Linked DNA regions of Homo sapiens: region 1 is linked to region 2. Evidence: promoter capture Hi-C in 16 types of primary human blood cells and fetal thymus (Javierre and others, 2016). All regions are on one chromosome and are shown on one strand. Each heading gives the region's core, a stretch centred on a gene start or on the middle of the fragment in contact. The rest is flanking DNA. Distances are from core to core; before and after follow the strand shown.

Evidence for each region. Contacts are between HindIII fragments. The CHiCAGO score rates a contact against its expected background, and 5 or more counts as called.
Region 1: a fragment that was not itself captured here is called in contact with the fragment with the promoter of TAOK3 in region 2 in 1 of 17 cell types (M0 macrophages); the score reaches 6.5 in M0 macrophages.

What each region holds. Positions count from the first base shown.
Region 1 is chr12:128,855,396-128,859,590 of GRCh38, reverse strand. All of the region lies in intron 1 of GLT1D1 (glycosyltransferase 1 domain containing 1), which reads right to left. Among named protein-coding and RNA genes, the nearest start is that of GLT1D1, 4.0 kb to the right of the region's middle. The HindIII fragment of the contact is 488 bases long and covers 2,073-2,560 here.
Region 2 is chr12:118,370,810-118,374,605 of GRCh38, reverse strand. TAOK3 (TAO kinase 3) reads left to right here and starts at 1,699. Exons shown (of 21, transcript NM_016281.4): 1 at 1,699-1,958. RefSeq lists an enhancer at 1,206-1,255 and silencers at 1,576-1,825, 2,610-2,669, 2,770-2,859. The HindIII fragment of the contact is 12,374 bases long and covers 1,007-3,796 here.

The DNA.
Region 1 (4,195 bases), core at 1,067-3,566, about 10 Mb before region 2:
GCAAAGCCCTGTTCACATGTGGAGCAGGGTCACTCTTGGGGAGGGGCTGCCCTGTGCACTACAGGGTGTGGAGTGGCGTCCCACTCAATGCCAGTAGCCCCCAACACTAGTGGTGACAGCGAAGTATGTCTCCAGACCTTGCCCAACGGCCCTGGGGGCAAAATGGCTCCCCCTCCTCGGCACATCCTCTGTGCCCCATGCTCTTCCGGAGGCAGAGTCGCTGATCTACAGGATTCTGTGCTGTGAAGGCTGCGTGACTCTCAGCTCTGGAAGAGATGGTCTCTTCCCATCCCATTGGTTGACGCTCTGCCTAAGACGCCTCCCCCTCCGTTCTCCCACCTTGCTAACTAAGGCCCATTATGCTGATTAATAGCTCACAACTGTTGTTGATGAAAAGAGTCAAACTCTGTAAAATATTAAGAGATTTATTCTGAGCCAAATATGAGTGACCATGGCCTGTGACACAGCCCTCAGGAGGTCCTGAGAACATGTGCCCAAGGAGGTCGAGGTACAGCTTGGTTTTACACATTTTAGGGAGGCATGAGACATCAATCAAATACATTTAAGAAATACATTGGTTTGGTTCAGAAAGGCAGGACAACTCAAAGCATGGGGGTTGCGGGGAGGAAGGGCAGTTCCAAGCTATAGGTCAATTTAAACATTTTCTGGCTGACAATTGGTTGAGGCTTGTCTTAAGACCTGGGATCCATAGAAAGGAAATGTTCAAGTTAAGATAAAAGACTGTGGAGACCAACGTTCCTTTGAAGTCTTACGGTGGCTGCCCTTAGAAACAATAAATGACAAATTTTTCCTCTTCAGATCTTTAAAAGGTGCTAGACTTTTAGTTAATCTCTTCAGGATTGGGAGGGCATGGAAGAAAAAGATCTAGCTATGTTAATGGAGATTTTTTTTTTTTTTTTGAGACTGAGTCCCCCTCTGTTGCCCAGGCTGGAGTGCAATGGTGTGATCTCAGCTCACTGCAACCTCTGCTTCTGGGTTCAAGCAATTCTCCTTCCTCAGCCACCCAAGTAGCTGGGATTACAGGTGTGTGCCACCACGCCCAGCTAATTTTGGTATTTTTAGTAGAGACGGGGTTTCACCATGTTGGCCAGGATGGTCTCCAATGCCTGACCTCAAGTGATCCACCTGCCTTGGCCTCCCAAAGTGTTGTGATTACAGACGTGAGCCACCAGGCCCGGCAGAAATTCTTTACAGATGCAGATTTTCCTCCCACAAAGGATGGCTCTGCAGGGCCATTTCAAGATATGGCACAGAAGCATGTTTTGGGGTTAAATATTTTGATTTTTTTTCTTGTCTCATAATGTTATGCCAGAGTCAGACTGGAAGGTAAGTCACGATATACAGTGTCAAATAAAACCCATCTGATGGGATTTTATGGTTTGTAGGGCATGACTCCCAGACCCCTTAGACAGGAATTTGGGCAAGATAAAAAAATCAGAGCTTAGTCCTCACTATGTTCCAGACACTGCTTTAAAAACGCTGAAAGTGTATTAACTCTTTTAATTCCATTCACAACCCATATTGGCATCCTCATTATGAAAAAGAACACTGAGCCACAAAGCAAACTTGGTCTGGACCTTGCCATTTTTCAACAGGGAATGGGCTTGGAAGGCACGAGAAGGCTTTCCCTGACCTCTGATCTGGGATCGGTCCCCACCTATATGTCCCCAGAGGATTCTGTGCTTCCCAGGCCAATACATTCATGAGGATTTAGCACCCTTACTTATAGATGGGGTGTTGCTTTACAATGACCAACTTGTGCAAGAATAGAACCCCTTCTTTTTTTCTTTAAATTCAGTCTTACCTAATTCTGACCTCCTATTCTGCCAGGCTGATGGGAACTCCAGATTTACGTATTTGGGGAACTCCTTCACCAAGTGTCCAGGGTCAGTTGAAGGTGGTCTCCGGGGTCTTTGGCAGAGATTTTGGAGGAGAACATCCAGTCCTCACTGCTCATTGCTGATTAGATCACAGGGACTCTCAGTCACCAAGGGAACCTCCCTCCCCGCCCGTCCAGGACACCAGCATCATTTCCTCAAGGAGACTAAGCTTTCACAAGGCAGAAGATGTCTTCAAGCAACTTCTGCTTTTTTCTTTTTCTTCCCCCAGCAATCCTTCCTGAGGTGAAGGACAACAAACGCCTGGTCTGAATAAACATCAAAGCCTGAATAGCAGCCTTTATTCTGCTTCTGCACAGCCAGGAAAAGAAAGAACGAAGTGACTAAATGGCCCTCCACTCCAGTTTAGCTGAAGTCAACCTTCTGCATAAACCCTGCCCGCCTCCTTCCCCTTTGTAGCCCCAAGGCCTAGCAAGACAGGCACTTTCAAAAGTGCACCACCAACAGAATGATGGGGGAGTGAATCTCAGGACGGCAGCTAACATAGTTATTTTTTCTATTAATTCACCTCTGAGTTGGGACAAAAGTAACGTGACCTTGTGGGTGGATGTGAGTTTGGGCCCTTGGAAGATGTGGGTTTACAGCTCAAGTTAGGAGCAAAATATTAAATAACAGGTAATATTTCCTTTTTGCCTGAAGCTTCTAACTCTGTGCCCGTTCAGGTTCTTCGGTCACTCAACATTGTTTTTGATTTTCTTTTCTGTTTTTGAAACGGAGTCTTCTCTGTCTCCCAGGCTGTTGTGCAGTGGCGCCATCTTGGCTCATGCAACCTCCGCCTTGCAGGTCAAGCGATTCTTGAGCCTCTGCCTCCCGAGAAGCTGGGATTACAGGTCTGTGCCACCACAGCTGGCTAATTTTTTTATTTTTAGCAGAGATGGGGTTTCACCATCTTTTTTTGTTTTCTTGTTTTTTTTAGTGGTAATTACTTCTTAAGCACAAAGTGTTTTCCCCACCACATGTACAAGCCAGATTTGGCCTCTCTCTCTGACTCATTTCCTAGCACTGGCCCCAAACTCTCTATAGTCCAGTGACCCTGGCTGCCTTTCTGCTTCTCACACAGCTCAGGACCTGTGTTCTCACCATTATTCCTTCCTGGGACCATCCCTCCAGATCTCAGTGACAGCCTCTTTTCGGTCTTAGCTTCAATGTCATCTCCGGAGACAGCCTCCCAGACCACATTCTCTAAAGCATCTCAGCCATCATCATGCCTCTCAATCACTTTATCTAGTTTTGTCAGAGGCGTCTGAACCAGAGTAACTCAGTCTTGAATAAGGGCTGGGTAAAATGAGGTTAAGACCTACTGGGCTGCAATCACAGATGGTTAAGGCATTCTAAGTCACAGAATGAGATAGGAGGTCGGCACAAGATACAAGGTGATAAAGACCTTGCTGATAAAACAGGATGCAGTAAAGAAGCCAGCCAAGACCGACCAAAACCAAGATGGCAACGAGAGCGACCTCTGGCTGTCCTCACTGCTACACTCCCATCGGCACCATGACAGTTTGCAAATGCATGGAAATGCCAGGAAGTTACCCTATATGTTCTGGAAAGGGGAGGTGTGAATAATCCACTCCTTGTTTAGCATATCATCAAGAAATAACCATAAAAATGGACAACCAAGGCCAGGCGAAGTTGCTCATGCCTGTAATCCTAGCACTTTGGGAGGCCAAGACCAAAGGATCACGTGAGGTCAGGAGTTCGAGACCAGCCTGGCCAACATGGTGAAACCCTGTCTCTACTAAAAATACAAAAATCAGCTGGGTGTGGTGGCAGGCGCCTGTAATCCCAGCTACTCCGGAAGGTAAGGCAGGAGAATCGCTGGAACCGGGGGGCAGAGGTTGCAGTGAGCTGAGACCCCGCCATTGCACTCCAGCCTGGGCGAAAGAATGAAGCTTTGTCTCAAAAAAAAAAAAAAAAAAAAAAAAGGCAACCAGCAGCCCTTGGGGCTGCTCTGTCTATGGAGTAGCCAGTCTTTTATTTTTTTACTTTCTTAATAAACTTGCTTTCACTTTAAGGACTCGCCCTGAATTCTTGCTTGTGCAAGATCCAAGAACCCTCTATCGGGTTCTGGATCAGGACCTCTTTCCGTTAACAGTTTTGTTTTATTTTTTAGAGTTTTGATCTGCCACCCAGGCTGGAGTTCAGTGGTGCAATGTCACTTCGCTGCAGCCTCAACCTCCTGGGCTCAACTGATCCTCCTGCCTCAGCCTCCTGAGTAGCTAGGACCACAGGCATGCACACACCACATCAGCTAATTTTTAAATTTTTTTTTGTAG
Region 2 (3,796 bases), core at 450-2,949:
CCTTGAAATCTTTTTATATATCCCTTCTCAAAACGGTACTCAGCCACACCGCTCAGGAACTCGACTTGACTTGAAACGAAGCCCTGCCAGCCCCATTTCCACAACTTCTTTGCTTCCAGGCCTTCTCTGCCTACCCTAACACCCAAACTGAAACTTTAAAGGGGGACATCACAATTGGAATGGAGTATGATTCTTTTTTTTCTTTTTCTTTTTTTCTTTTTTTGAGACGGAGTTTTGCTCTTTCACCCAGGCTGGAGTGAAGTGATGCGATCTCGACTCACTGCAACCTCCGCCTCCGGGTTCAAGTGATTCTCCTGCCTCAGCCTTTCTAGTAGCTGGGATTACAGGTGGGTGCCACCATGCCCGGCTAATTTTTGTATTTTTCGTACAGACGGGATTTCACCATGTTGGCCAGGCAGGTCTGGAACCCTTGACCTCAGGTGATGAATGGCGTATGATTCTTAAAACACTAGAAGAAACATGTATACTGTTTAGAACACAAACACATTTTGTCAGCTGGAGTTAAAAAGTTAACAATCGAGGGTTCTCTGAGAACTAAGGCCTGTATACATCTGACAAAACTTAGGATCAAAATGTGTTCCTGAGACAATTTCTTCATAAAATGCTAAATTCTAAAGTCCATAAACTTACTTTTGGCGTTAAGAGTAAGGAAAGCAGTTTTCTGTTTCCGGTGTTGATTTGATCAGCATATCCAGTTTCACAAAAATAACACAAATGGGTCTTAGTAGCATGATGCACTTTCACCCCTGGCAGGCACTATCCTTTAGCGTGGATCAAGAGGAGTCTCTGATTATCACATGTTAAACCTGGGTCAAAGCTCGTTATCCTTTGGCCACACGTTCACATAGAATCATTAAAACCTGTGGCCCTGGAAAAAGGTTATATTGAATAGCTTTGCTGAAACCTTGTTAAGCTAATAATAGGGTTCCCCTACCACAGTCTTCCTACTGTCATAAAAACCTACAAACTGAAAATTTCTAAAGCTTTGTCCTTGCACCTATCAAAATGTGCCCCGCATTGAACGCTTAGTTGGGCAAAGTATGCACCTAGTACTGTATATAGATTTTTTTTCCCCCAACGGTATCAAACTGACGGCTGCTGAACTCAATTCAAGGAGAGGCAACTCCCTTGCAAGAGATTTTAAAAAGAAATGGTTTAAATCCAGGAAATTTTTACAAATCCTGGGCAAATTAATGCTATATTAGTTCATGGCAGAATTACTAAGAAAGCTGTGCAAGGTCTAGCGAGAGACTGGGGTCCTCCCCAAAGGCTCTAACATGGTGGTCCCTGGGAATCTCCCAAGAAAAGTAAAGGCGTGGGGAGAAGCGCCATGAACTTTGACCGGAGAGCAGCACAAACAAGACTGACCGCACCCCAGGCGGGCCCGTAGGTTACTAAAGTTGCAAGGTCTTCCGCGTCTGAGGAGACCCCGCCCTGCCCTGTCCCGCCCATCGACAACTCCGCCAATCCTCGGGTTCCATCGACCGCTCGGCTTCCCAGGCTCCATCAATCAAATACCTATATACGGCCCCGGCCCTGTGCCCCGCGATCAGGGAAGGTCAGTAGAGAGCCTATTGGAGCCGAGCTTGGGGCGTGGTCCGGGGCAGGGGGCGGGCGGACTGAGACGGTGGGGCGGGGCGTGCTCGGCGCAGTCCGGTGCGATTGGCCACCCCTGGCAGGAGCCGCACCTCGGACAGCAGCAGCGGCGGCGGCCGCGGGAGGGTCCTTGTGGCGCCGGGCGGCGGGGTCCTGCGTGGAGAGTGGGACGCAACGCCGAGACCGCGAGCAGAGGCTGCGCACAGCCGGATCCGGCACTCAGCGACCGGACCCAAGGATCCGCCGGGGAACAAGCCACAGGAGAGCGACTCAGGAACAAGTGTGGGAGAGGAAGCGGCGGCGGCGGCGCCGGGCCCGGGGGTGGTGACAGCAGGTCTGAGGTGAGAGCACCGGGGCGCGGGGCATGACAGTGGGAGCCGAGGCGGCGGGACCCCAGGCAGAGTGAGGGGAGTTGCGGGAGCGGGCTCGACAGTGCAGACTGTGGAGAGGAGACCCCGGGAGGGACCGGGACAGCGGGTGAGGAGAGGGGACTCCGAGAGGGACCGAGGCAGTGGCTCTGAGTGGAGAGGACTCCGAGAGGGTCCAAGACTGAAAGTCTGAGGGGAGGGGTCTCCAAGAGGGGCCGGGACAGTGCGCGTGAGAGGAAGGGACCCGGAGAGGGGCTGGGGTAGTGGGGTGAGGGGTGGGTGCCTCATGAGGCACTAGGATAGGGGGATGAGGGGAGGGGGTCCCCTGAAGGACCAGGTCCCAGAAAAGGTCAGGGACAGCGGGGAGAGGGGAAGGGTCCCCGAGAGGGGCCGGCACTGAGAGTCTGAGAGATGGGGACCCCGAGAGGGGCTGGGACAGCACCCGGGGAGAGGAGACCCCGAGGTGAGGGGAGGGGACCCAGAGAGAATCCAGGACAGAGTAAAGAGAGGGGACCGGTCAGGGGATGTGAAGACAGGGGATCCCCAGAGGGCTTAGAACAGAGTGTGAGAAGACCCCAGGAAGGGCCAAGACAGTGGGAGAAGAGGAGGGGTCCCGGAAGGGGGCTGGGCTGAGACAGCGGGGCTGAGAGCAGGACACCTAGAGAGAGGCCGGGACAGCGGGTGGGAGCAGGGTGACCCCGAGAGGGGCCAGGACAGCGGGGTGAGAGGAGGGGACCCCCAGAGGGCTCGGGACAGCGCATGCGAGCGTGGGACTCCGAGAGGGGCTTTGAGCGTCGGGTGCAGGCGCGGACCCCGAGGGAGGAGCGGTGCCCCATGGGTGCGGGTCGGGCCCCCAGTCACATAGCGGGGGCCCGGCGTGAGCAGCGAGGGAGCGGGCGGGGGGTCGCGCCCGCTGAGTTGCGGGAGCCCCCCCAAGAACGGCTGCGGCGGGGAGCCTGGGTCGCAGTCGCGGCGTCGGGCAAATAGGAACCGGCTGCAGCGCAGACGAGTGGAGCGGGGAGGTGCTCCCAGGGTCTGGCATCAGCGACCTCCCTGAGGGTGGAGTGTGAGCCCCCGGGACTCCGGGGGACTCCGGAGCCGGATTATGTCATGAAACATCTCTGAAGTGAAACGCATGGGCTGGAGGAGCTGGAGGGGCTGGTGGGGCTGGCTGCAGGACAAAGATCTTGGAATGATCAAGAGACCTGCGCGGCCTGACCTCTTCTCACTGGCCCGCTGGCTTCGCATTCGTTCCTTAGAGTCTGATGTGGATGTCTTGAAAGCGAGGGGCTTCCTGATCTTAATGAAAAGGTCAGGTGAAAAGTTGGAAGGGGCTTCTTCAAACCTCCCCCACTTCCCCCTCCACAAGAAGTTGAAAGGGACAGGGATCCTTTTGGAGACCCGTGTTTTAGATTAATAAGAATATTTCTTTGATAGACCCTTGCGTTTTCCTGGACTACTGGTTTTTCATTTTAGCTCAAGGAGCTAAGAAACTTTTTTAGATTTGGCAGCATATCAGTATCAATGTTTACAATGCAGATTTAAAGGAACTATACTAGGTTTGGAATCTGGACTGTTTAACTTTGATCTGTTGGAGATAGTTGGAAGGTCAAACTAAATTTTCAAAAGAGGTTTTGGAGTCGCAAAACTAAGAGCTCTTTCCAATTAGATTTCTTATCCTAAAAGCTGCCAGGATTGAGCTTTAGGCGTAATTCCAGGACAAGCTAAGGAGAGAGATAAACCTATTTAAACCAGACACTGTGTGTCCTGGTGGGAGGCAAGTGTATCTATTAAAAGGTTGAAACAAATAG